6 separate regions of the Homo sapiens genome follow, and regions 2, 3, 4, 5 and 6 are each linked to region 1. The links are contacts of gene promoters, found by promoter capture Hi-C in blood cells and fetal thymus (Javierre and others, 2016). All regions are on one chromosome and are shown on one strand. The core of a region is centred on a gene start or on the middle of the fragment in contact, and the rest is flanking DNA. Distances in the headings are between cores, read along the strand shown.

Region 1 (3,105 bases), core at 379-2,878:
TCATTTACCTCTTGGGCACAAACAAACAGCCTCTTTAAATAAAGCCAGGGAAGGGAAGCATATACCTTTGTACAATTAAAAATAGCACAAGAATGCCAAAATGTATTGGACCTTGCTGTTAATCCGACTTACCTGGCTGACACTCTGGCCTAATCCTATTTTCTCCTCGCATTAGAATGACTCTACAAGGCTACGTTTTGTTCTTCGGGAGCACAGTTTACCTGGCCAGTGGGCTGAGGATCAGAGAAGCCTCACCACCTAAGGTGGGGAGAGGGGCTGCAGACTGCCCAGCCTGGCCCCAGCCTGCTGGAGGTCCCAGTGCAGAGCCTGCTTGGCGAGACAGAAAGCAAACGAAATCACTCAAGGGAAACTTCGCTGGAGACAAAACACATTCAATTTCCTGAGGATTCTGCTTTCTCTCAGGAATTATTTGCTTTTGCCGAGGCACATTAAACAAATTAAACACTAAAAATGGAAGCTCCTTTGCTTCCTGGCTCAGAAAATAGTTTTTTTTTTAAAGGATATAGTACGAACAGTAATACAAATGAAAGAAAACAGTAACACTCTAGCTCTTTAAAATAAACTCATGTGGGCACCTAAAGTCCTTTTTGGCAAATTCTTATCTTGTGGGGCAGTGCAGACAATGGGAGCTTGTGCTAAACGGCTGCTGTCACTCTGCTGACATTCCAGGAAGCTTCCACGCAGCTACTTGGGCATCTTTTCACACCTTCACCTTCCAAACCGCAGTCCCTGGTGATCCTGACTTTTGCAGCCTGGCTCTGGGTCCACACGGGGCTGGAGAAGGGGATTCGGTCTGAATGGGTTCGTGGAGGGTGGGGCAGGGGGCTGAGCTGAGGAACGCGCTGGCGAGGGAGTCAGATACTGTTACTTCGTATTTTAGGAATGTATTTCTCCTGCACACCCCTCCCTCCCCTGCCCACCCCCCTCTCCCAGTATCATTGCTCTTTGAAATGTCATGAACTTGGCGCTTTCAGACCAAACCGCCGGGCTCAGGCCCGAGACAATGGGATTGTCAGAGGGCCAGCGCGGAGCTTTTTCTGCGTGTTCACGGAGCGTTAAGCCTTTATCCCACAGAACGGCTCTGTCTGACCGGGTCAGACAAAAGCCAACTTGCATCTTCCGCTCCGAGGGGATCTGGGCAGAGCCCGGGTACAGCCCTGCGCGGCCCCAGGGAGAGGGGGGAGAGGGCGCGTGTCCCCAGCCCTGCCAAGTGGCGTGGGGAGCGCGAGGCCCTCCTCGGTCAGAGCCACCAACTCTGGTCTCCGTGGACATCCCCCTTCCCCCGCCCGCTCCCGAGGCTCTAGGGCGGCCTCCTGGCCGCTGCCTTCTCGCACCCAGGGTCTTCGGCCTGGGCTCCACACCTCAGGCCCCTCAAGTAATCGGCCTCTTGGTGGCCGGGCACTGCCTTTCCGGCTGCTCTCTGCACCCGTCTGCCCCTCCGGCCTCCCCTGGCGGCTACAGGCGTCCGGGGCCCTCGCTCCCCAGCTCCAGGCGTCCCGGGAGCCAGGCGCGCAGCGGGGCGAGTTCTCGTGTCCGTGTGAGCGCGGGCGTGTGTATGCGTGCGCGTGCACGAGCGTGAGTGTGCGTGAGCGTGAGTTTGAGTGTGCATGCGGGTGTGAATGTGTACATGTACACGAATGTGAGTGTGAGTGTGCATGAGCGTGAGCGTGCGTGTGCGTGCGAGTGTGCACGAGCGTGACTGTGAGTGTGCGTGCGTGGAAGCGCGGCGGGGAGCCTGGCTGAAGGCCTGCTGCCTGCATGGCTGTCAGAGAAAAACAGAAGTGGGAGCCTGCTGCGGGCTCCGAGAGGACTTGATGGGAGCCCTGGCGCGCGCTGGGCACCGCGCGGTGAGTGTCGGGGGTGGGGGCCGCGGGTCTCCAGCAGCCCCTGCCCTGTGCGGACCGCCGCCCCGAGGGTCCCTGCTTGCGGGTCCGGGGCTGGGCGTGCCTGGCTCCCCCTTGCCCCCTGCTCCACCGGCAGGATTCAAGGGACGAGAGCTCTGGGCTGCGGAGAGTTGCCCTGGCTGGCCCCGTCCTGCAGCAAAGGGCGGGCGGCGCGAGTGGAGTGTGCGGGGCAGGCTGGGCGGCAGAGGGAGCCCAGGGGAGCCCATGGCATGGCACCGCCAGTGTGGGCTTATGAGGAGGTGCAGGCCGGGACCTCAGGCTGTGGGCAGGACCGCAGGCAGCGGCTGGCAGGCTCCAGGCAGGCTCTGGAGGACCCGGGATTTAGGTATTTATGCAGTGAGAAGGCAGGGGTTTGGGTGTTCTTTCTCCCCTCTTCCTCCTTGGAATTCAATTTCTTCGAAGGGCAGGGGGCAGGCCGGGAGGGAGGGACAGAGAAAGAGGCCGCGAGCCACAAATGCCGCCCCCCATCTGTTCAGTAGGGCTCACTTCCTGAGGCAGGGGTCCCTAGCACAGGGTCTGGGGAAGGCAAGGTGGGGGGTATAGGCTACCCAGATAAGGAGGGACTTGCTAGGTAGTGGCCCTGGGTCTTGAGGGGCTGGTTCCATCCCGATTGGTCCCCTGGTGCCTGGAGGGCTGTGGAGGGTCCCAGGCCTAGAGTTGGGGGCTGAGTGGGAGGACGGGCCTCACAACCTGGGATTTCTTTCCAGCTTCTGGGTCTGGATCTGGGCCTCCAGTCCCCAGCTGTGAAGCAGGAAGGGAGGGAGGGAGCCTTTCTGAGACCCTCCAGCCTCTACCCTGCAGGAAGAGGTGGATGTAACCTTGAGCATAACCTTGAGCAAGTCTTCCCAGCTTTTTAGGCCTCCACTTCCTCACCTGTAAAAGGAGCTGATGGGGGTAGACCATGTCGAATGTTACTTCTGGCTGAAACATTTTTTGTTGTGTTTTGTTTTAATTTGTGCAGAGTTGGACCTACTCTCTCATGGTGCAAATTTATTTCATTTCAGTTTCCGAGGCCAGGCATAGAATCCCTGTATATTCCCAGGGACAGTGACGCCTTATGCAGAGGATGGGCAACATAGAAAATAACCCTACCTGGGGGCACAGACAACTTATTCTTTAAAATGACCAAATGAAGCTAAATTGAAACAAAATTTTTTTTAAGTGAAATGAAACCAGTGAT
Region 2 (3,105 bases), core at 447-2,946, 490 kb before region 1:
AGGTCCCAGCAGGTTGGAAAATCAGCACATGCTCAACGTTTTCTTATAATTAATGATAGCTCCGCTCTGTACTTCAGCCCGGTTTAAATCCCTTTAGGACAACCATCTCCCCGTACTCCCACCCCAGCCCTGCTCCCCTCCTCCGGGCAGTGAGAAGAACCAAGCCAGCACCCACCCTGCCCAGCAGTGTGGCTGGGGCTATCCCGCTGCGGAGAGTGGGACTGTTGTTCTGGGTTGGTGAGAGTGGTGCTGGTGGGCCCTGAGCCTTGCCCCACTGCTTCCCTCTGACCAACACCACATGTTACTACGCACTAGCAGGATGTCCTGGGGCCATCTGTAGCTAGGCAGTAGTGAAAGAGGGGTACCCTTCCCAGAACTGAACTCACTTTCCCACAACCAACCCGTGGCCCGTCCACAACAGCATCAAGTGCTGACCCAGCAGCCTCAAACCTGGGCTCTTCCCAGTAATGCACAGGGATGTCTCTGGAAACTTCTGCCATTTCCTTCCTGCCTTCTGCTCCTTTGGTGGAACAGGTATGACCCAATGGTCTCTTCAGGTCCAACATGAATGAATGGGAGAGCTCCTTGGGGACAGATGACAGGCAGGCACCCTGCCTCCCTCAGAGAGCTCTTGCCCTGGGCTGATCACTGCCTTGGCCTCCAGCATCCCTGCCTGTGGGAGGGAGGGACCACCTGTGGGCTTGATCAGGCAGGGAGAGCTCCAGCCAGAAGGGAGTTGGACCCCAGTGTGGATGAAGAGGGGCAGAAGGACGGGGTTACACCACACTTGAGTTCCCTTGTGAAAGACGTTCAGATTTCAGACTTTTTCAAAGTAAGTGTGGCAGTTGCATGGCAGTGTTAAGCACACTGACCATGGACGCTCCAAAGGTCCATGTGTATGTGTTCATGTGGGCAACTCCCCAAGATATGGGGCGAGCTGAACCCCCCAGGTACAGAGCAGCCTGCATCGCTGCAGGCTCCATGGGTATCAGGGAGCAGGACCCACCCAGGGACACACATGTGGGCACAGCAAAGGCCTTCACAGACACCCCATGCATCTGGAGCCAGGCCCAGCCCCAGGTAAGAGCACGGGAGACGGGGGCCTGAGGCAGGAGGAGAAAGCTTCCTGCCCATATCCTCTTGTACTACTTGATGTTTTAATGACATATCATAGCCTAATGACAGCATTAATAAATACTTCAAAATAAAGATGAATTTCACCCTCCAAAAACATACAAAGAAGGCAGGAAGAGGCAGTCTAGTGTCATAGAAAGATGTAGGTTTTGGGCCAGATGCAGTGGCTCACACCTGTAGTCCCTGCACTTTGGGAGGCTGAGGTGCGGGGATTGCCTTGAGCTCAGGAGTTTGAGACCAGCCTAGGCAACAGAGCAAGACCCCATCTCTACAAAAAGTTTTTAGAAAATAGCCGGACGTAGTCATGTGTACCTGTGGTCCCAGCTACACAGGAGGCTGAAGTGGGAGAATCACTTGAGCCCAGGAGGTTGAGGCTGCAGTGAGCTATGGTAACACCATGGCATTCCAGCCTGGGCGACAGAGTGAGACCCTGTCTGAAAAAGAAAAGAAAAAAATAAGATGCAGGCTTTGAATCCCTGCACGTGCACAGATGGTTCACGGTGCTCCTAGGAGATGGTGGCATCACCGCATTGGCAGTAGAATAATTAGCCATCATCCTATTGGCATCTGGGACCGAATGAGCCCACATTCCAGGCCTCATTCTAAGCACGGCACGGCTATAAGATTGTTTAATTCTCACAAAGTGTCATGAGCTGGAGTCTGTGATTATCCTCCCCACCCGACACACCTGGAATCCGAGGCTCAGGCAAGTTAACCTCCACAGTCACACAGGGAGTAGCCAGGACGCAAAATCTGTGGGGTGGGCCCGTGGGCACCCAGGACAGCACGCAGCCCTTCCACGGGAGTTTCCCACACTCAGAGTGTAACTGAGAGAGCATAGGAGTGTAATGGCGCGATCTCGGCTCACAGCAACCTCCGCCTCCTGGGTTCAAGTGATTCTCCTACCTCAGCCTCCCGAGTAGCTGGGATTACAGGCACGCCCCACCATGCCCAGCTAATTTTTGTATTTTTAGTAGAGACACGGTTTTACCGTGTTGGCCAGGCTGGTCTCGAACTCCTGACCTCAAGTGATCCTCCCGCCTCGGCCTGCCAAAGCACTGGGATTACAGGCATGAAATTCTATTTCTTTTCAGAGCCTGACACCCTGAAAACTTGGGCTGCGGCTCTGTAGTCCCTAAGCTTGTATCCATGTTGCAAATTCAAGCAAGCAGATCCGGACTGTAGAGTGTTGAATGAAGAGCTTCCCAATGTTTTCACCCAGTTCCCACTGAGCATTTGCTGTGCCTGGAGAGGGCCAGGCACCGGGGGCGTGGTGGTGTTTGAAGGCTGGTTGGCTTCACGAATGGGTGGTGCATGTCCACGCTAGGGGAGGCGCCCCTCTGACTGGGACAGCCAGGCAGATCTCCCAGGAGGAAGAGGCACTTCCATCAGGAGTGGCATGGTTAGCAAACCCACTTCATCAACTACAATCCAGCCCCGGACGGGGCCCAGGTTTCACTAAACTCCACACCTTCTGTGCGTTCCCGTCCCCTGGGGAGCGTATACCTGGGAGAGTAATTTCTCCGTGCCTTCCTTGCAGATTTACCCGGACGAAAGCCATTACTTTACCAGCTCCAGCCTCAAACAGCATCTGTACCGGTCCATCATCAACTTCTTCGTGGAATGCTTCAGGATCCAGGACAAACTGCTGACAGTCACAGCGAAAGAGGACGAGGAGGAGGACTAAGCTCAGGTCGCTCTAAGCACAAACGTGGCTCTTTCTACAACCAGATGCAACCGAGGGATTTCCCTGCCCTCCCTCTTCCCTCGGAGGGGCGGGGCGGGGCGGGGCCGGGTGTTCCATAGCATGTGTGTCTCGGATGCGGAAGGCAGTTTTGCTTGGGAAACAAGCTCCTTCCCCGGGGTCATCACTCACGGCCTCCATGGCACCAGGGACAACGCTGTCCCCGCAGCAGCGCCTCCTCCCGGCGCCCGAGAGACCGGCACGCCACGGCCCCTCCCCCAAGGAAC
Region 3 (3,105 bases), core at 240-2,739, 440 kb before region 1:
GAAACTCTTCGGGGACACATGTGGTTCATTTCAGGAGGTAGCTAAACTTTCTACAAAGTTAGTACGTAATTACACACTTATTTTTTAATTCAACAAAGTAATTTGGGAGAGCTTCATGGGGAGCAGCACTGAGGTTTAAAGAGCTGAGGATACAATTATCTTCATTTAACTTTCTATGCTAAAATATTTCTTAAAAATAAAGTTGTGCAGCTATTACTATTCAAATATTTCCTTAAATTACCAAATATTTGCTAGATTGACATATGTTGTTTAACTTTTCCTAATGAGACTAAACTCCTAGAGCTAGGATACGCAGTATTTCTTCCAAGTTTCCTCTCAATACCTAGCAGATAGATTAAAAACACACTTTTTGTGAGCTATCAGGTAGATACTTTTAATTATCCTACACAAAGAAACAATCTTGGGATGATTTGGATGGATTATCTATGTCTTCATCATTGGCATTCACATTGCTTGCCATTCTTACTTGCCAGTGTTACAGAATTCAGGGTATACTGAGGTGGCAGCTCGGTGATGGACAGCTGTTCATCTTCTCAATGATCAGCCACCCCTGGTCACTGCACGCTGGAAAAGTACCTAGTGCAAGGGAAGGACCTCCATTTTTTAATTGCACTTTATGTTAACTTCAAAACTGGCATTAATTCAGTTATTGGAAGACACTTAACTATCTTTTGAATAATTTGAGTATATAAACATACATAATATCCTTTTTCAACTCTAAGTGGTGTGAAATCTAAACAGATCAAGTACTTCCAATGAAAATTTCAGAATTGAGATGTTGTCTAAGTGTAAAATATACACTGGATTTTAAAGACTTGGCATCCCTCAAACAGTAAAAATATCTCAGTAATTTCTAAAAATATTGATTACTTCTGGCAGAAGCAATATTTGGATGTATTGTCTACATATTAAAACTAATTTTAAAACATTTATTGTAGCTACTAAAAATGTTTAAATTACACATTGTTCCCATTATATTTCTATTAGATGACACCGAGCCAGATGAAAATAGGATTAAATGAGATTTTCATGTAAGAAATAATTTGTCCGATCTAATCATTTTTTTCTAAGAAGTATTTACTTGAAATCTTTTTATTTTTATATGTTCATCTAAGTCCCTCTTAGTCACCAAATCAATGCTTAACAGCTGTGCAAGCCAGTTGGCTTTAGACAGCTCCTGGAGTTTTTAAGGATCATTTCTTGGCAGCTTTAGAAAAAAAAGCACTAATTGAAAGGTTAATCAAATCAGTCATATTTGTATGTTGGTTATATAAACACCCTGTCTCCACCAAAGATTAAACAGACGCATTATACTCTACCCAGAAGGCCCATTTATTCTGTAATGATTGTCACTTGCCTTCAAGCTTCTAAGTAGTAGGGAAGTACTTTGAATACTTTGCAAATGAAAACTCTATTCTGATTTATGAAATGCTTCCACACTGCCAGGATTCTACAGAATCTAAAATATTTTATAGCAACACCAATTCTACCTGTGGTACACAAGGGGAAAAGGTCAGTTCTACATCTACTCAAAGATAAGTCAGTATCTAAGTTTATTTAAGCACAAAAATATAAGCTTAAAAATAGACATATTTTGAGGCACAATGTTGGTTAAAAAACAGCTCTGAATGTCTGCGACAGCACTGGTCAGCACGATCTAAAGATATTAGCAGTTACTGCCCTGCTCATCTTTAATAAACAGGCGGTCTCCTACCATTTTATCACACCTATGATCCAACAAGACGTGTACTGCAACAGGGTCTGGAAAGAAGCAGGATGGATGCAAGTTCCGTAGCGTCACTGGTTCTCACTGGTTGCGCCTGTGCTTAGTGATTGCAAAATAATCTGAATCCACCCCTGCCTGGGATGGAGTTTATTACGGTGACAAAAAAAATGGCTGGCTTCTAGAAATTATTTCTTGAGGTAAAAATTGACTGGAAAATATTTTGTCTTGAAATTACTTAAAATGTGATCCGGTTTGATGCAAATTATAAGTTATGCAAAAAATGTGGAATAATAAAGGATTACTCAATTCTAAGTTCAAAAGTACATTTATTTAAAATGTGGGCAAGATATCAATATAAAAGAAAACAGAGTATAAGAAATAAAAATAATCAAAGTACAAAACATTTCAAATCTTTAACATCCATAATTTAGAGATAGCAAGGTCTTTATTTACACCATTTTATTTCTAGTTGAAGTCCCGTAACAGTTTTGTGAAAACATTTAAAAACCTGGCAAATGAATCATAAAACCTAATGTGGGCTCTTAAAGTCATATAATACAAAACATAATTTATGTTTCCTCAGAATAAAATTGCACATCTTAAAAAGATGCAGTATATTTATTATATCTGTCTTCCTGCTTCACAGTCTGATCCCCCAGGAAAGCAGCTGGAAAACAAGAGCATGTGAAGGAAGCGCAGCAGCTCCTCGCCAGCCAGACAGCCAGCCCCGCACCGCAGGAGTCGACATGCACGGCAGCCTAGACGCCATCAGTTAAACTTATATGTAGGCTTGTTGAGGAAAACGACTTTCAAACACAAGGCAAAAGAAAAACATGAAACCAAGGGTTCCAACATTCATCATCCAGTTTCAGAGACACCCTTGAAGGAATGCTACAGCCTCTTTCTTACCCATTCAAACCAGTCGCTCTGCTGCATACCCACATCACAGGAGGCCCTCAGCCCCGACACACAGGCTCACTCAGCCCGGGGACATCAGCACCTGTGCCAGCTCCGCAAGGTATCCACCATGCGGCCAGAACTGAGGCCCAGCAATAGCTGAAATGTCCTTTAAATTAACATGTACAACACACAACCCCCAAGAGCTGACATCCCCAAAGCCCCACCACAAATAGCTGACTCCTACTTATACCTGCAGGAGCAGGTAGTGACCTCTGCAATTCTAAACCGTCCACTTTGGGCAAAATTCATCAAGCTATGGATATGAAAAAAGGCCCCCAAGGTAATACTCATAAGTCTCCTGTATGACTTTTAAAGCAATTTCTTCTGAAAGTAAATGTAGTGTAGAACAGGCTTTCACAAATACAAACATGAATGTTAGGAAAAAGTCTGGAAAAAAT
Region 4 (3,105 bases), core at 368-2,867, 420 kb after region 1:
GTTGTGTGTGTAACAGTCTTGGCTTCCAAGAATGTGGCAAAATGGTGAATACAAAGGGAATATGAAACCATAAAGACAACAGAGGAGATGGCTGTTACATCGGAAACTAGTTAAATTAAAATAATATATTTTCATATTTTACACTATTTCAAAAATGAAATGTAATTCAGTTAAGTATTGATCTCTCAAAAAATCTAATTTACAATTCTGTGTATAAAAATATAATTTGTGGACCCCCATGAAGCACGTTTGAGTTTGCACTTGCTGAGAAGCAGGAGATGGAAGGGAGGGATGGCGGGGACAGAGGTTTGCTTTCTGACAGCCGGGACGAGGGACATGTAGAAAAATAGACTCTGAGCAGGTTGCTTGGCCTCACAAAATAATCTTTCCCCCGTGAGTACAGTTCACATGATCATAATAAATTATCCAAGAAACAAACTATTTAAGGCTCTTGAAGGTCCGGTTCATATTATTTAAAACATCTATTCATACCAAACAAATAAATAGCCAGGAGAGGAGGAAAAAATAACCAAAATAAAACAATAACCAAAAAAATTCAAAAAATATATATCAACTAAGCACAACAACAAAACTTCCCGGGGTCCTTGTTTCCTTAGAGTCTACTTTGGACTGTCCTACTTTATTATTCTTATTCTTATTATAACTCAGTCTGGTTCGTGCGCCTTTTCCGAGTGTCTTTTTGCTTTGCGTTGCTGTTGCTGCCCCGCCCCGCCCCCTCCCGCGCCCCTCCCCCGGCCCCCCGGCTTCAGCTGGACTTGACCGCCATGCCCAGCGGGTGCAGGGCCTCGCTGTCCAGGAGCCAGGTGCCTATTTGGTAGAGCAGCTGCGAGTACCAGTGGATGCCCGCGGTGGCCCCCGCACCCGGAGCGTCGGCAGCACCTGGAGCGGTTAGGGCTACTCTGCCGCCGCCGCCCCCGCGGTCCCCGCCGCCGCTGTCCCCGCCGCGGTCCGTGCGCGCGGGCGCCAGTGCAGCCAGGAGCGCGTGCGCCAGGCGGAAGGGCGCGAAGGCCCGGTGCGCCCAGCTGTGCTCCTCGATGACCGCGTAGCACGAGGCCAGCACCCGGTTGATGAGAATGGTGCCCTGGGCCGTGAGCGGCGCGTAGGCGCCCGCGGCCTCCTCGCTTAGGGTCACGCTGTGCACAGCGGCGGGCAGGAGCCGGCGGTCCCCGTCACGCTCGGCCACCACGTACACGCGCTGGCCCGGGCGCACGCGGCTGGCGAACAGCGCCCGAGGCCCCAGTGCGCCCCCGGAAGGCGGCCCCGAGCCCGAGGACGCCTCGGGCTCCCCGGTGGCCGAGTCGTTGTGCGGCGCCACAAAGAGCAGGTGCGCGGCGGTGAGCAGCAGGCGCTCGCGCGGCTCCCGCGTCTCGATCACGTAGAAGACCTTCTTGGCGCCGTCGTCGCGGTCCAGGAAAGTGAGGAAGTCGCTGTAGAGCAGCCGGCCCTGGTCGTCCGCCGCCAGCACGCGGTCCCCGGGGCTCAGGTCCTTCACCAGCTTGGTGCCGCCCTGCTCCAGGTGCACCGTGGCCGAGCCCGGGAAGCAGCCTCCCGATTTGGCCGCCACCGAGTTCTCTGCGGGTGAGGAGAAGGGAAAGAAGAGAGGACAGGGCATTGAGTTCCGAGAGGGAGGCGCGTCTCGGGGAGGAGGGCGCACGCTTGGTGCCCGCGCTCCTAGGCCAGGGGTGCGCAAGGCGCGGGGCGGGGCGATTGATTCCAGGCGGGTCCCGCACACACCTCCCTCCCCCAACCCCACTGCCCCAGGGACAGGATTCCGACACATTCCTTAACGACTCTCTAAGTCTGGGCTGGCGGTCACAGAGGTTGGCTGGCGTTTCCTGCAGAGGCCGGTGACACTCTTTCCTTCCGCCTTCCTCCAACCCCACCCCCAGCTCCGCACACACCCGGCCTCGCCGCGAATCCATCCAGAGGGTGTTTGCTCTGCACTTGGATTCCTCAGGAAGCCTCCTTGAGCTCCCGCGGGCGCCGGGCGCACCCTCCTTCCCTCCCGCCCCGGCGCGGGGCGCGGCGCCTGCTCGCGCACTCAGCACCCGGGCTGCGCGGCGGAAACCCCTGGCCCGCCTGCCCGCCTGCCCGCCTGCCCGCAGCACCCTGCCGCGCCTCGGCGTGGGCCTGCGGAGGGGCGGGGGCGGGGAGTGAAAAATAGCTGCAGTAGTTGTAGCAACTGGACAAACATTCCAGAGATTGGCCGAGGTGTGAAAATCCGAGGCTTGTGTGGATTTTCTAATTAAAATCCAATAAAGGGCCCAGCATTGTCATTGTGATTTCTGGGATAAACAGGAGACACTCTTGGAAGGGGACACTTCCATTTTCTCCCCTCCCTGTTCTCAGCTCACTCTCTCCCCAGCTCGCGGGCCTCCCCCTCCCTATTTGCTCAGGTGCAACCCCCCCCCACCCCGTGTGCAATTCACAAGCACTATTTGCACAGCCAGGCCTCTCTTCCAAGCACTCAAGATGTGTATTTGAATTTTAAATGGCGGGGCCTGTTCGGAGCGCTGGAAGCGCCGGGTCTCAAGGCCCCTTGACTACCCGCTTTCTCGAGCCCTCTGTCGCTCTCTGAGGCTCACTGTCCCCAGGACAATAATTGAAGTTGGGGCGGAGCGCAGGGGGCCGGGGAGGAGGGCGGGGAGGGCCGTCTTCTTTGCATTCCAATCTCCGGGATCATGCTTTTTGCAAATAGAGATTGCCAGAAAGAATCTTCCTGCTGGAATTACAGGGGGCTTTTAATCTTCTCATCGGTTTCTCTGGCATGAAGTGCGGGGCTGGCCGTTGGAGGCCCTCCGTAGCCCCCCGGAATGCGACCCCGGGCGCTGGCGAGCCCGAGTCGTCGAGTCGCACGGCCCGGCTTGACACGCTGCGCCCCGCGCCCCCGCCCGTGTGCTCAGAATGCCAATGAGCGGCTCCCGCGCCGCGGCTCCGCTCTCCCGGCGCGATCCGGGGGATGGATTAGCGCTGCTCACTTGGGAGGAGGCCTCCGGAGACCCCCGCTAGGGGGACCCCGCGGGCAGGGAGCCGGGGAGGAGGTTTTGCGCAGGGGGCGCCCTGGGCCCAGGGGCCGCCGCCGAG
Region 5 (3,105 bases), core at 191-2,690, 400 kb after region 1:
CAAATCCGATTTAATTGAATTTTTAAGCCTAAGTCATAATCTGAAAATGCCATGTGATTAGAGCCCAAAGCAGTTTTCTTCCTCTTTAATCCATAGTTCAAGAATAAGTCATTCCTTGTTTTTAAAACCTGTACTTTGGGTAATGGGATCTCTACAGAACATGGGCAAAAAACGCCTTGACATTTCAGGGAGAAAATGGGGCTTTCTTTGAATTAAGGGTACACTCAAGAGTGGTAGATCCTTTGAAGAAGGTATTGTTATTTCCCATAGTTGCCCCCTGAGCAGTGCCTGGCATGCTGGAGGTCTTGGTGTGTATTTATTTAGTGCAACCAATTACGTGAGGCAGTGTATTTGTGGCAGGCCCAGGGGTGTCCCCGTCCCAGACACAGGAGGTTTGGAAGTGGTTCAGGTGTGTGGCACTGATCATTCCTGTTGAAACATGGCCGCTGAGTCCTGAAATCTCACCCTTGGTTTCTGCCTGTGTCACCGGGAGTGCAGTGGTGCAATCACAGCTCAATGTAGCCCTGATTTCCTGCGCTCAGCTGATCCTCCCACCTCAGCTTCCCCAGTGGCTGGGACCACAGGTGTGCACCACCATGCTCAGCTAATTTTTAATATTTTTAGTAGAGACAGGGTTTCACCATGTTGTCCAGTTTGGTCTTGAACTCCTGGCCCCAAATGATCTGCCTGTCTTCGCCACCCAAAGTGCTTGGATTACAGGTGTGAGCCACCGTGTGCGGCCAGGTCCTTTTCTTATTCGAACATGTATTTGCATGTTTTGAAAGAGTGACAGTCACGTCTGAAGGGAAAAGTAAGTGATAAAAGAGTTCTGTAGGAAACACACAGTACTGACAATTGGTGGCTCTAGGAACAGAAGCACAGAGCCATGTGTTGTACACCTTGAGGTGCAGCTCGTTGCTGTGTGCTTAAAAGAAATGAGAAGCACGGCAGTTTTGAAGCTTCACGCTCAAAAAGGAAGCTTTCTTGCTGACCTTTGGTGTTGCCTGCAGGCCGCAGCGAGAGGGCAGAGGTCCTTGCGGCTCTTCTCTAGGGTCCGACGTAGATCCAGACAGGAAAGTCAGTGGGGCATTCTGGACATGTCGTCGCACCAGGCTGCAGAGCTGGACACTGAGGAAACCCCTCCAGAAAGAAAGCCCTACCTCCCGACCCACTGCAGGTGACTAGAGGACTGGGCAGATGCCCTTCAGACCAGACGGAGAGGAGCACTTCTCTGATTCCAAGTAACAACAGCTGCTGTTGAGGAGGTGTAATGAAAACCGCACCTAAGCTCTTCACCCAGCTTCGAAAGCTAGCCTGGATGTTTTCAATCTCAGACGCTAGTCGTGTTTTTTCTCTAAAATTGACAATGGAGAGAATTTTTTCTCACCATCAAGGGAGAGCATCTGTGGATGGTGTCTGAAGAATGATACCATGTTTTGTTCTCCTTATTTTTTTGGAGACAGGGTCTTTCTTTCTCTGTCACCCAGGCTGGAATGCAGTGGTGCATTCCTGACTCACTGCAGACTTGACCTCCTGGGCTCAAGAGAACCTCCCCTCTCAGCCTCCCGAGTAGCTAGGATTACAGGCGTGCACCACCACACCTGGCTAATTTTTGTATTTTTTGTAGAGATGGGGTTTCACCACATTGCCCAGGCTGGTCTTGAACTCCTGAGCTCAAGCGATCCGCCTGCCTTGGCCTCCCAAAGGGCTGGGATGACAGGCGTGTGCCTTCCAGTGCTGCTCCTGGCTTCGGCTTCTTCCCTGGCCCTTACATTGCCAATGTGCACCTCAGTCACCAAAGGCAGGCTTCGCCTCAGCTTCCCAGGATGGCCGTGCCCCTGAGATGATGGCACCAGCCTTGCCAGGGAGCCTCTGATGACAGCCGTTCAGATGATGTCATGTGAAGCTTCCTGAAATTTTCTCTCCCATTAGTCTTTAATCAAGGGAAAACACTTATTTAACAAAATTAATAGATTAAAATCCCAGTCCTTAGAAAAAAAAATCAGTGAAATAGACAAACCGCTAGCTAATTAAGAAAAAAGAATGTACAAATAAAAAGAAACACAAGAATTGCTATTGATAAAAAGGACTTTTTTAAAATTGTAGAACGTAACATCAAATTATGTAAAACATGTAGCATCAAAATTATACATCAATATATATGATTTTAACTGTCAGTGTCCAGTTCTGTTTTATTACATATGTTCACACTGCTGTACAGCTGTCCCAACCATCCATCTCCAGAACCTTTTCCTCTTACAGAACTGACACTCTGTCCCCATGAAACACAAACTCCCATCCCCTTCCTGAGCCCCCAGCACCCCCCGCCCCCACTCCACTTTCTGCCTCTGAATTTGACGACAATAAGTGCCTCATGTGGTTGGGATCCTATGGTGCTTATCCTTTTGTGACTGGCCTGGTTCACTTGGCACGATGTCCTCAAGGTCCATCATGTGACAGCCTGTGTCAGGATTCCCTTCCTTTTCAAGGCTGAGTCATATTCCATTATAAACACACAGTGCATTTGTTACCCATTCATCCATCAGTGGACACGGGATGCTTGACGATGACGAATGCTGTTACGAACATGAGTGTGCACACGTCTTTTTAAGAGCCTGCTTCCAATTCTTCTGTGTCTGTATGGGGGCGTGGAAATGCTGGGTCGCATGGCAGTTCTATGTTTAATTTTTGAGAAACTGTCATCCTCTTTTCCACCGCAGCCACAACATTTGACATCCCCACCAACAGTGCTCAAGGGTTTCTTCCATTTCGCCACATCTTCACCAACATGTGCTATTTTATGTTTCTTTGTTTTTGTGTGTGTCATAGCCACCCTAATGAGTGTGAGGGGGTGTCTCATTGTGATTTGGAGTTACATTTCCCTAATGGTTAGTGAGGTTGAACATCTTCTCATATGCTTGTGGGTCATTTGTTTATCTTCTGTGGAGAAACACCTATTCAAGTTCGTTGCCCATAAAAGGGATTTTGTAAGCAATAAAAGACTACTTTGTAGATCTTTTTGCAGATAATTTAAAAACCTATGTGATATGGACAATTTCTTAGGATAAACAGTGTATCAGTATCAACTGCTGTGGAGATCTAAAG
Region 6 (3,105 bases), core at 393-2,892, 260 kb after region 1:
AATAATGAAAGGTGATAAAGAGTTCAAGCCATTTAAATATGGATGTATTAACGTGCTTTTTAATAGAGACCATTTTTCAATGAGTTGCTTGCAAAACATTTTTTTTGGGGAGTGAGTTCTCACAGTTGAATAATTTTTTTGTTTTTTTTTGAGACAGAATCTCGCTCTGTCACCCAGGCTGGATTGCCGTGGCGCAATCTCGGCTCACTGCAACCTCCGCCTCCTCGATTCAAGCAATTCTCCTGCCTCAGCCTCCTGAGTAGCTGGGATTACAGGCGCGTGCCACCACGCCCAACTAATTTTTGTATTTTTAGTAGAGACGGGGTTTCACCATGTTGGTCAGGCTGGTCTCAAACTCCTGACCTCGTGATCCACCCACCTCAGCCTCCCAAAGTGGTGGGATTACAGGCGTGAGCCACCGCGCCCGGCCAGCATTTTATTATACGTACCGTTTTATCATCTCTTCACCCATCCACCAATGCATCTCCTGTATGGACGTCTTGATTGTTAACTCACGGCACTGGACCTCCAGTTTCATGCCTCTCCACATTGCAGGGTCCTCTACGTTGTTGTATCAGTCACCTTTCTAAAATACAAATCTTACCATGTAAATTGTTTCTAAAATCTTTCAATAGACCCCATAGACTCAGAAAAACGTCCCAAAGTCCGGAATCCTGGCCCCTGCCTACCTTTCCAGTTTCATTGCTGGGTCAGAACGCCTCACCTAAGCCCCACATTGACCGATATGGAATCAATGTTTACAGCCGGTGTGTACTTAATCAACCCCCTTCCCCGACTGCGACCACTCAGATGCGCCTTCCCGGGCCCCACACCCCAAAACCCCTGAGCCCTTTCGTCCACAGCTGTCTGACCACCCAGCACCCTTTCCTTTATGTCAAGTATGAGGATTTCGTTTCTTAACCTTTCTCACTGCTCAAAATGCAAACTCAGACATGAGTGCCGGGCGCTATCCGTCCTGCTCACGTCTTGTTCTCAGGGCCGCAAGGCGCAGGGGCAGTAAGGGCCGAGAGCCCATCAGGGTCCGGCGCTGCCCGCTGCCCAGCCGGGCGCGGAGAAGGGGACGGGGGTCCGGGGTCGCGGGTCCGGAGGGTCTCGGGTTGTAGGAAGTGAGGGCTCGCGGGCGCCGCACGAGTGCGCGTGCACGTTAGCCCGGCGCGCGCGGCACTCATCTCACCTCGCGGAAGCACCTGCCGGAGCTGTGTGCACCCTTTCCTGCCCTCAACACAAGCCGTCGGCGTTCACTACTGTAGCTCATTCAGACCCCACTCTCCAACCTACTGTCCAGGCACAGAAACGACAGTTAAGGTTCCCCCGGACCGTACGCTGGACCTTGCCTCCCCGGCTCCTAACGGGAGACGGGCTGCCGTAAAGCTTCGCTTTGCCGACTGCTGCAAAGCGCCTTACGACTGAACCCGGAATCGACCTATGGCCAGCAGTCGTCCCCGCCCTGCTTCAAACATTTGGGTTTCAGGAGCCGGGCGGAGGTGACTGCCGCGTGTTTGCGTTGCACGCCCACCGCCCGAAACACGGCGGCGGCCTCAGGGCTGCTGCGGCCTCGGCGGGGGCAGGCCCCGGCGCCCGCCCGCCTCCCGGCCTCCATCATCCCAGGGTGCACCGCGGCGGGCGCGGGCGCGCGGCCATGTTGCGGTAGTTTGTTGTTTTCTTCCTGCGGAGGCGAAGGGCCAGCTGTGGACCGCGAAGCGCCCGGCTTCGCCTCTGCCTCCTGCAGCCCCCTCCCTTCTCTGTCCTCCGTCACCCGTACCCGGGCCCGGACCAGGCACGTCGGCCCACCAGCTGGCTTGGTGGGGGAGGCTGAAGGCCGGGCCCCGCGAGTGCCATGGCGGCCGCCCTGGGAGCGAGCGGAGGAGCAGGCGCCGGAGGTACGTGAGGCAGCCGGACTCTGGGGGCCAGGACCGCGCCGCGGTGGGCGGGGGTGTAGGCCGGGGGGCCTCCCCGCTTAGGAGAGGACGAGGCTCTCCCCGGCTCCGACTCTCTTTGTGTTCGGCCTATTCCGTTTTCTCCCTCGCCTTCCCTCGCTATTGTCATTCTCCCTTTCTCGCTCCTCCTCTCCGCTGTGCAGATCGTACTTACCTGTGAACTTCTGTGTGTCCTCTACTTTGCAAGGCTGCCTAAGTGTCAGGCCCATCTCTGGCGTTGGCGGGCATTAAGTGCCGAAGCCGGCCTGGTGTCCTATGGGTAGGAGAGCGCCCCCCCCACCCCCCGAGACAGTGTCACTTAGGGAGAGCGGGGCAGGTCGCTGTAGGGTGGGTGTTTAAGATTGTGGGGCCATCCTGACAGATTTAGATTGATTTGAAGCCCATTACAAAAACATAACGAAAAGATTCACCTGTGTGAAGGAATGTGCGACAGTAGGCCAGTTTGGAAAGTGAGATTTCTTGAGAAAGTCTCAATAAATCCCTGTTTTAAATTAACTTATTTGTTGTCTAATAACCTGTTAGTGTTTTATGTGCGTCTTCCAAAAGTGAAAACGTGACACAAAAGGTTTAGATACTGAGTCAGTTCCTTTGGATAGTTTTTCTTGTTTGCAAGCATAAACAGTATTGATGAAACACCTATCTCTAAAAAATTGTAGGTAAATTACTTTCAGGTAAAATTACATATCACTGGGGGTTTTAAAAACGTGGAGAGATACTTGAAAGTGACTTTTTAAGTGATTATTTTGAAAACTTTGAAAAGATGGTAAAATATGGATAACAAAAGCATTTGGGATTAGTTCTTACCATTGAAACGTTGAAAAGCCAGTCTAGTGTATACTCGAGAAGTATTTTTTAGTAAATGCTAGCAGATGGTTACGTTGTTATCATCCTGTTTAGGAATTTTGGCCCAACTGTCAAAACGTTTGCCTGACAAAATGGAAAAACAAAAAAGACTAAGTGTAGGAATGTCGCTTCTGGCAATTTGGTTTGCTATATGCCACTTTTCTTTCAGTTTAAATACATGATGTTTGCGTGTTACATCTGAGACTAATTAAAATTTTAAAATGTATAGTTCACCTATCTTTCTGGGGGTCAGAATTACTTGTTTTATAGCATTCCCAGTGTAACCTGGGAACTCTTGGGTGAA

What was found. The method cuts DNA at HindIII sites, captures the fragments that hold promoters and counts their contacts. A CHiCAGO score of 5 or more calls a contact.
Region 2: a contact is called between a fragment that was not itself captured here and the fragment with the promoter of LINC03010 in region 1, in 1 of 17 cell types (neutrophils). The highest score is 7.5, in neutrophils.
Region 3: a fragment that was not itself captured here is called in contact with the fragment with the promoter of LINC03010 in region 1 in 5 of 17 cell types (naive B cells, total B cells, naive CD8 T cells and 2 more); the score reaches 6.0 in naive B cells.
Region 4: a contact is called between a fragment that was not itself captured here and the fragment with the promoter of LINC03010 in region 1, in 1 of 17 cell types (neutrophils). The highest score is 6.1, in neutrophils.
Region 5: a contact is called between a fragment that was not itself captured here and the fragment with the promoter of LINC03010 in region 1, in 1 of 17 cell types (neutrophils). The highest score is 5.3, in neutrophils.
Region 6: a contact is called between the fragment with the promoter of RBM33 here and the fragment with the promoter of LINC03010 in region 1, in 2 of 17 cell types (neutrophils and M2 macrophages). The highest score is 6.5, in neutrophils.

Annotation. Positions count from the first base shown.
Region 1 is chr7:155,380,448-155,383,552 of GRCh38, forward strand. LINC03010 (long intergenic non-protein coding RNA 3010) reads left to right here and starts at 1,629. Exons shown (of 3, transcript NR_147174.1): 1 at 1,629-1,868. RefSeq lists enhancers at 875-1,686, 1,687-2,498. The HindIII fragment of the contact is 8,785 bases long and covers 693-3,105 here.
Region 2 is chr7:154,889,660-154,892,764 of GRCh38, forward strand. DPP6 (dipeptidyl peptidase like 6) reads left to right here. Exons shown (of 26, transcript NM_130797.4): 26 at 2,675-3,105. The coding sequence ends at 2,821. Among named protein-coding and RNA genes, the nearest start is that of PAXIP1-AS2, 37 kb to the right of the region's middle. The HindIII fragment of the contact is 1,152 bases long and covers 1,121-2,272 here.
Region 3 is chr7:154,941,634-154,944,738 of GRCh38, forward strand. It overlaps PAXIP1 (PAX interacting protein 1), which reads right to left. Exons shown (of 21, transcript NM_007349.4): 21 at 2,057-2,531. The coding sequence ends at 2,516. PAXIP1-AS2 (PAXIP1 antisense RNA 2) reads left to right here. Exons shown (of 8, transcript NR_024476.1): 3 at 2,394-2,987. Among named protein-coding and RNA genes, the nearest start is that of PAXIP1-AS2, 15 kb to the left of the region's middle. The HindIII fragment of the contact is 212 bases long and covers 1,384-1,595 here.
Region 4 is chr7:155,802,134-155,805,238 of GRCh38, forward strand. SHH (sonic hedgehog signaling molecule) reads right to left here. Exons shown (of 3, transcript NM_000193.4): 3 at 1-1,593. The coding sequence ends at 767. Among named protein-coding and RNA genes, the nearest start is that of SHH, 8.8 kb to the right of the region's middle. RefSeq lists a silencer at 2,947-3,105 and an enhancer at 3,033-3,105. The HindIII fragment of the contact is 9,246 bases long and covers 1-3,105 here.
Region 5 is chr7:155,783,246-155,786,350 of GRCh38, forward strand. No RefSeq gene overlaps it. Among named protein-coding and RNA genes, the nearest start is that of SHH, 28 kb to the right of the region's middle. RefSeq lists a silencer at 2,916-3,105. The HindIII fragment of the contact is 927 bases long and covers 978-1,904 here.
Region 6 is chr7:155,643,019-155,646,123 of GRCh38, forward strand. It overlaps RBM33 (RNA binding motif protein 33), which reads left to right and starts at 1,643. Exons shown (of 18, transcript NM_053043.3): 1 at 1,643-1,901. The coding sequence starts at 1,859. RBM33-DT (RBM33 divergent transcript) reads right to left here and starts at 1,388. Exons shown (of 3, transcript NR_126344.1): 1 at 1,196-1,388; 2 at 450-586. RefSeq lists an enhancer at 582-1,536 and a silencer at 1,461-1,970. The HindIII fragment of the contact is 4,649 bases long and covers 1,391-3,105 here.